Linked DNA regions of Homo sapiens: region 1 is linked to region 2. Evidence: promoter capture Hi-C in 16 types of primary human blood cells and fetal thymus (Javierre and others, 2016). All regions are on one chromosome and are shown on one strand. Each heading gives the region's core, a stretch centred on a gene start or on the middle of the fragment in contact. The rest is flanking DNA. Distances are from core to core; before and after follow the strand shown. Region 1 overlaps NKAIN2 (sodium/potassium transporting ATPase interacting 2). Region 2 holds the start of NKAIN2 (sodium/potassium transporting ATPase interacting 2).

Evidence for each region. Contacts are between HindIII fragments. The CHiCAGO score rates a contact against its expected background, and 5 or more counts as called.
Region 1: a fragment that was not itself captured here is called in contact with the fragment with the promoter of NKAIN2 in region 2 in 1 of 17 cell types (M2 macrophages); the score reaches 5.9 in M2 macrophages.

What each region holds. Positions count from the first base shown.
Region 1 is chr6:124,746,853-124,750,674 of GRCh38, forward strand. All of the region lies in intron 4 of NKAIN2 (sodium/potassium transporting ATPase interacting 2), which reads left to right. Among named protein-coding and RNA genes, the nearest start is that of RNF217, 210 kb to the right of the region's middle. RefSeq lists a silencer at 558-758. The HindIII fragment of the contact is 936 bases long and covers 1,358-2,293 here.
Region 2 is chr6:123,802,415-123,805,917 of GRCh38, forward strand. NKAIN2 (sodium/potassium transporting ATPase interacting 2) reads left to right here and starts at 1,451. Exons shown (of 7, transcript NM_001040214.3): 1 at 1,451-1,840. The coding sequence starts at 1,787. RefSeq lists an enhancer at 207-256. The HindIII fragment of the contact is 9,489 bases long and covers 1-3,503 here.

The DNA of each region.
Region 1 (3,822 bases), core at 576-3,075, 940 kb after region 2:
TAAAATGAGAAAATTGAACTAGATCACCTCCTAAGGTCACTTTCACTTCTATAATTTTATGAATCAATAATGTACTATTAACACTATTATATCCAAAGAAAACAAAGACTAATTGAAGCAATTGTAGCAACAAAAGTTATGACATATGGATTAAGCCTAGTAGGTATTTTTTTAAAACTACAAATGACTGGCCATTATTCTCTATGAATTAATATCTTATCCTGTTTATGATACTAAATTCTCAAAACCATTTCAAAGATAATATTCAATATTTCTTTAATAATAGCCCTGTAAGTTTTGCAGGACACAGTCACCCAAGCTGAGTGATGCTGAATAAGGCCAGAGCTGGGGTCACAGTCCTTTCCTGGTCCCTAACCACCCACAGGTCTTTTCTCACTCTGTGAGTCTCTCCTGAGCTGTCCTTGTCCCTTATTCTAATTCCATCAGGTGTGTGTTGCAGTTTTATTGAGCCATTTTCAGAGCCAATTAATCAGAAAACACTGTTTTTCCATGATTTGGGGGATTCCTCTAGTAATGACTTTGCAGCCATAATCAAGAAATATGTTAAGCCTTATGTCAATTAACTTAACTGATGTGAAAACTTGACTGGTCCAGGGAGCAATGGATTTCCCCAGCTGCACCTTATCAGAGAACAGCTTAGTGTGAAGGAGAGAAGTTATGCTGAAGCCAGAGCTGTAAACGTGCCAGGAAAATTAGCACAAGCTCCAAGTACAGAGGGTGAAGAAGAAAACTTGCTTAGCCCATGTATGGGTGTTGCTTAAACAGTTATGAATTATTTTAAAATCTTTCATTGATGGGATGAATAGTCGCATACATTTTTGCCACATGTAAGTTTCTCCAAAGAATTGGGCCCACAAGAGAAATGGAGGAGGGGGGCCTACATGCAAGCAGATGAGGGGCATTTGCTTCCCCAAAAATATTCTTATATTTTTTATAATGTGCCTCATTAAAATATGAAACACTCAATTCAAAGCAAAAATTGAAATAGGATACTCCTGACTCTTCCCTTTCTTCCCTCTATTTCCTCATGATATAGTCTTAGCACTTCTTTTAAATGTTACAATAGTGCTTCACAAACAATTTTTTTTGCCAGTCCGTCACAATGAATGTTTTTGAAAAATATAATAAAAACAAATTATCACAAAAGTGAAATAAGAAGATGAAAAAACTAAGCACACTTTGTGGTTATTATATTCAACAGTCATGAAAATCACACCACAATTTGCCATGAAAGTTTCTTAACATTTAACTCTGTACAAGTATCGTTGCAGAACAATAAGGCCACAACACGTACACAAGCACTTTGTCTTAGCACCATATCAACAATTACCTGTAAAGCTTTATCTTGGCATTTTCCACTATGCAACTGTTGGTTTACACAGCCCCATTAGACTGGGAGTTCTGTAATGGGTAAGCCAGCAGTTAACACTTGGAGGCACTCAGTAAGTATTTATTGAATGAATAAGTCAATGAATAAGTGAAGCACAAAAGAGCATAAGCCTTTCTGCTCTTAACACCTACAGGCACTCTTCTTACATCAGGAAAGCTCCCATGCTCTCCTGATTCCTTTGCCCCAGATTCCAAGGGTACAGATGCTTTTCTCACCTTTGGTGGTAACTGCCACCTGCTTGTCCCAAAGAGCTTCTTTGTTTCCCTGTCTTCCCACAAAGGTGATAACAAAGATTTTTTTTACAGTTTAAGAGTATCAGTGCCAATCACTTTTCAGACAAAACAAGATAAAATGCAATAAATAAACACGGAGGAAGTTATAAAAATTTCAACATAAAGCGCAGATCTATCGTCTTGTTTTCTGCTATTCAGAGCACTAAAGACACTGGGTTTTGTGTCTTTATCTGTGGGTTTCTCTAGTTTATCCATTTGATTTACTGAGTTTGTGTGAAAATATTGATTAAATCTTTTCTTAGAACCAGTTGAGAACCATTTGCTACTTTCCCCAGCTCTGATATTAACTTCTAATTTAAAAAAAAAAAGAAGTGTGCAAGTATATTCGTTTTCTATTGCAGCTGTAACAAGGAACCATAAACTTAATGGTTTAAAACAACAAAAATTTATTGTCTCACGACTTCTGTAGGTCAGAAGTCTAACACAGTCTCACTGAGCTGAAATTACAGTGTTAGCAGGGCTGCATTCTTTTCCAGAGGTTCTAGGAGAAATTTCATTTCATTAATATTCAGGTCATTGAAAGAATTCAGTTCTTTGAGGTTGTGTCACTGAGTCCTCATTTCCTTGCTATCAACTGAGGGCTGTTCCAAGCTTCTAGTGGCCACCAGGTCTCTCTGCTTGAGTCTTCCTCCATCCTGAAATCCAGCAACAGCTAGTGGAGATCTTCTCATGATGAATCTCTCTGACCCAAGCTGGGAAAGCGTCTCTGCTTTTAAGAGCTCCTGTGACTGAACACAGTCCATCTGTATAATCCAGAATAATTTCCCCATCTCAAGATCTGTAACCTTTTTCATATCTGTGAAGTTCCTTTAGCTATGTCATGTAACAGGTTCGCAGGTTATAGGGACTAGGGGATGGACGTATTTGGGGACCTCACCCTGCCTATCTCAACAACAAATTTATAAATTTATTCTAGGGTAAAAAAGAAAATTATAAATGTATGTTTTTAACTTTACATCATCCTTGGATAAGGTCCTAATCTTATATGAGCACTCAGGACAAGGCTCTAAGAGATTTTATGGTGGAGTCACACTGTGTGCATCGTCATACTGGGAAAGGACTTTGTACTTTGTTTATTTTGTTCATCTGGTCCTTTGGATTGTCCCCCACATGCTCTTTCAATCCCAGTGCACCCTCCAGATTTCTGTCATTGTCAACTTATGCCCCAATTCTCTGCATAAAATTCTAAAATTGTAGATCAAAAATCCACACTATAATATTAAATCCCATTTATTTTGTTTGGCAAATCTGATTCTTCATAATTTGATCTCACCCTATTTTATAACCCCATTTCCCACTATTTCCCCTTCATTTCCTATAATACACCAAAATACTTGCAAAATTCTGTGCCACTTATGCTTATCTTTGCACATGCTCTTCTTTCTGCTTGGATGGAACTTCCTTTCTGCTTGGATGAAATTTCTCTTTGGGGACATGTGATATAATTGAAATAGCATCAGCTTGGAAACCATTTTGATTTGTATTTGACCTAGTCACTCTGACACTTACTAGGCCTGAGACTTTCAGAAGCTCCTTTGCCTGTGGTGCAAAATGGGATTATTAAAACCTACTTTGTAAGAATATTTTGAGGCTTTGAAATAATACACATGAAAGCGTATAACACAACGTCTGTCATATGATGGACATTTACTAAATGTTAGTTATTCTTTTGCCCTAGAGAACCTCATTTTTCCTCCAGGCTTAAGTTCACCACTTCTGTCACATTGCCCAGACCCATCAGGTAGAGTAAGATTCTCAACCTTGAGTCTTCCATAACTGTGTATATTTAGCACTATCACATTTTAGTGGGCAATGTCTATACCCACCTGTGTCCTCTAATACCTTATAAACTTCTTGAGTGAAAGAATGTCTTGTTTATCATTTTAGCCATAGCACCTGGCAAAGGTACAAATTAGTCATTCAAAAGTCTGGAGGAAGAGATGGATGGATGGATGGATGGATGGATGGATGGATGGATGGATGGATGGATATGAGATAAATGTAGAATCTAGCATAATAACTAACAAATAATACATATGCTTCATTTACTTTAAATATACCAGTTGTGTAAGTATATCATTCTGGCTGTGTTGTTTTGTCTTTTTATCTCTTTGGCTG
Region 2 (3,503 bases), core at 201-2,700:
AATGCCATTTTTCTCAGTAGGCGCCAAGTTCCAGTTGCTACAGAGAGCTCTCTGCTTGATGTGGCTTCGTCATCTTAATCTCTTAAGAAGGGTGCTAGGGAGCTGTTTGCTATTTAGCTCCCTAAACCATCCTCTTATCAATCGCGACACTTCACCCCAATGAGTCAGTTCCTCAGTGGATCTCAACAAATAATCTTCACTTCCTGGAAAAGTTAGGATTGCTTTCCTTAGCTGCCAGGGCTAAAAAGGAAACTTGGTCCTAAATATCCACGCCCCAGGGGCAGCCACTTGGGCCAGCATGTTGCGCCCTTCAGCTTTCCGCCCGCAGGTGGCAGCAGCGGGCTCCGAAGCCTGTCTCTGCAGGTAGCAGCCGCTTCACAGCTTTCAGGCCGGTGCTCAGCGGAGGCTGGTGCATCTCCACTAGGAATCCACACCCAGCTGGGACTGCTGTGAAGCTGAAGTAACTGAGTATTAAACTAGTCTCCGACTCTTTAGTATTTTAAGTGAAAACAAACAACAGTTTGAAGCAGCAACAGCAACTCATTGCATCCCTATTCCCTCCGGTTGCTAATTTTTCCCAACTCCAGCAGCAACTCGGTCCCCTTCCCCAAGCAGGGTCGGCTCCGTAGCTCTCCGCGCTCCGACCCTTCAGATCCTCGGGAGCCCAGGGGAGCCAGGTGCTGGGCGGTGCGTCCGGTGCCGCCGCGCCCCTTCTCGCCACCTCTGGCCTCTCCGCCACTCGGGCTTTCCGGCCGCTCTGGATGCCTCGGTTGCACCCCTGTTCCATGACCCCAGCTTCCTTCCCTAACCCTCCTCTTGGTCCCTTCTCCCCCGAGCGCGCGCGCACACACACACTCGGTTCGCTCCCGCGGAGTGGCTCTGGGAGCACGACCGACTTCAGCTCAGCAAACCGCGGTCATGCCGCCCAGACTCCTCGCCCCGAGGCCCCGGTCCCCGCCGCCGCCGCTTTCGCGCCGCTCCTTTCCGCCTAGACACCGCCGCCTGCGGCCGCCTGGGCGGCAGCCCCTGCGGTCCTCAAAGTTGGCCCCCTGGGAGGGGGCGGCAGGGAGCAGGATGAAGGATTTGTTGTAGGAGGAGGATTCACACATCTGGGCGAAGGGAGGGGCAGCGCCGCTGCTGGGACGCGGCGCGGACCCGCATCATTGCGCGCAGCAGCCGCTGCAGCAGCCGCCGGGGACCGCGGAGCCGGGACGCCCCCGCTCGGCCCGCGCCCCGCTCCCCGCCCCACCCCCGCCCGCCGGGCCCAGCAACGCAGGGTGCCTAGGAGCCGCGGGCTGCGCAGGGAGGCGGGCAGCGGCCCTCGCGCGCTTCTGCCGCCCCCGGAGCCGGCGCGCGGCGAGCGCAGGGCGAGCGCGCGTCGGGCGGCGGCCGCGCTGGGGGGCGTGAGGCGAGCGGCGCGGAGAGCGGCAGGGGCGAAACTTCGCGGGCCAGATGCCCGAGGGCGCGGCGGCGCTGCCAGGCTGCCGCTGCTGCCCCTGCGGGCCCCGAGCGCGCCTCCGCAGGCGGCACTGCCCGCGGCGCGGCGTGTGCACCGAGCGAGTGAAGGTATGTGTGGCGGGCGCGGCTGGAGCTGCCGCCGCCGCCGCCGCCGCGCCAGCAGGTCCTAATGCCTGTCACTTCCCAGGACGCTGGCAGCAGCAGCAGCCCGGAGCCCCCGAGCCCTCGGCAGGTTTGCGTGTCCTTCCCCGCGATCTGATTGGATAAAGTGGGGGCTCGACGGTGGCCGACGTGGGACAGTCTGGCTGTGGCAGGGGTCTCGGAAACCATGGGTTATTGCAGTGGCAGGTGCACGCTTATCTTTATCTGTGGCATGCAACTGGTAAGTGACACTTGGGTCCCCTTATTCTGTAATGTGTCTTTGAGATAGTGGGCAGGGGAGTGCAGCAAAGGGTCTGCCATTGACTAGAATGGACGAAAAAGATAAAAGAGAAGGTGACAGATATATTGCCTATATTGAAGATGATTTCAGGGAGACGCACTCTGGGGTACAGGAGAGGTGAGCCTTTCCGTTCCCACCTATTTCTGTCCCTTTTAAGACAGTTTGGCAGGTGCGGGTTAAACTTGTCTTTAATTTCTTTAGGAAAAGCAAGATGTAGCTCTTGTTCTTTATGCTTTGCATTCCTATTCATGTAACAACGTGATTGTCACCTACAATTTACCGTACAGGTTGTTAAACAGAGGAATACGGAATTTTGGACTTTTCTTCTCTATACTAATTTTGCAGTATCTTTGTTTCTTCATAGACATGTTTTTTTTCTTTTTTTAAGGAAAATGTTGTCTTTAAGTATAATGCTCTAAAAAAACCACTGTTTAGGGCACATGGTATCCTTACAACAGTCTAATTTAGACTGTTTGAGTTTTAGCCACATTGAGTTTTTAAAGTATGCAGATTGAACAAAAATACTTAGGTGAACTCAGCAACACCATTGTCATAGACGGAACCAGTAACCTTTAAATCACAATTAACACAGACAATTCCAAGAAAAACTATTCTGTCTTACATTATGCATATTATTGCTCCTGAAATAGATACTGTTGTCTGATCCTATAGGATGGAGAATTCTATGTACTTTTTGAGGAATGTTGTACAGTTGCAAAGGGGCAAGGAACCAATAATGGAAAACGTCATGTCTCTGAATTTCAATTCCCTAAGGGCAATGGAAGGAGGGTCTGAGTAGAGAGTTGAGAGGTGAAAAATACACCACTCTAAGTGGTTAATTTGAGGTAGGAGCTACTTGCTCACACTTGTCATTAAATATATTTCCTTAGAAAGTATAAATTAACTGGAATAGTCATGTCCGTTTTCAACAACTGTTTCATAAAGGTTGAAGTGACTACAAGGCAGAAGATGTTTAAGTGTCCAATCAGTAAAGTGTTCAAAAGAGCAAGGATTTGCCATTGAAACTGGCAGAGGAATTCCTTAAGTGTTCTTGTTTATCAGTTGTCGTGAAGCCCATGAGTGTTAGTTATTGCTGCTTTGTTTAATATTTAGCTGAAACAGTGCTTTTTGTTGTGTGTTGTCTTAGGATGTTTTTCTTTCCCCTGAAAGTTATCTGATGGTGTCTATTTTGATCTGTGATTTATGCGCTTATGCACTTGGTTGTAAGACAAAGATGGAACTATAAATGTAATTTTCAGAATGTGGTAGTTTCTCAATGATGTGTAAACCAGTTTATTTTTCTGTACCACAGATTCATATAAGTTTTGCAATGAAGGATTTTTACTCTTAATAATAAAGCTAACCAAAACAATGAGGGAGTTTACTTTGTTAAACAACCCATTAGGCTAAGTCTGCCAAACTGTATAAAGGTTTTCAAAACATTCTTATTTTTATATATTATTCAGAAAAAGAATACATTTGCTGATTCACTGTGTGAAAGCATAAAAATGTGAGAATGAGTGGGTGTGTAGATCATTCTTATGCTCTTTTCGATTTAAAATTTGAAAAATGTGATTTAACTTCTAATCATGTAATATAATAG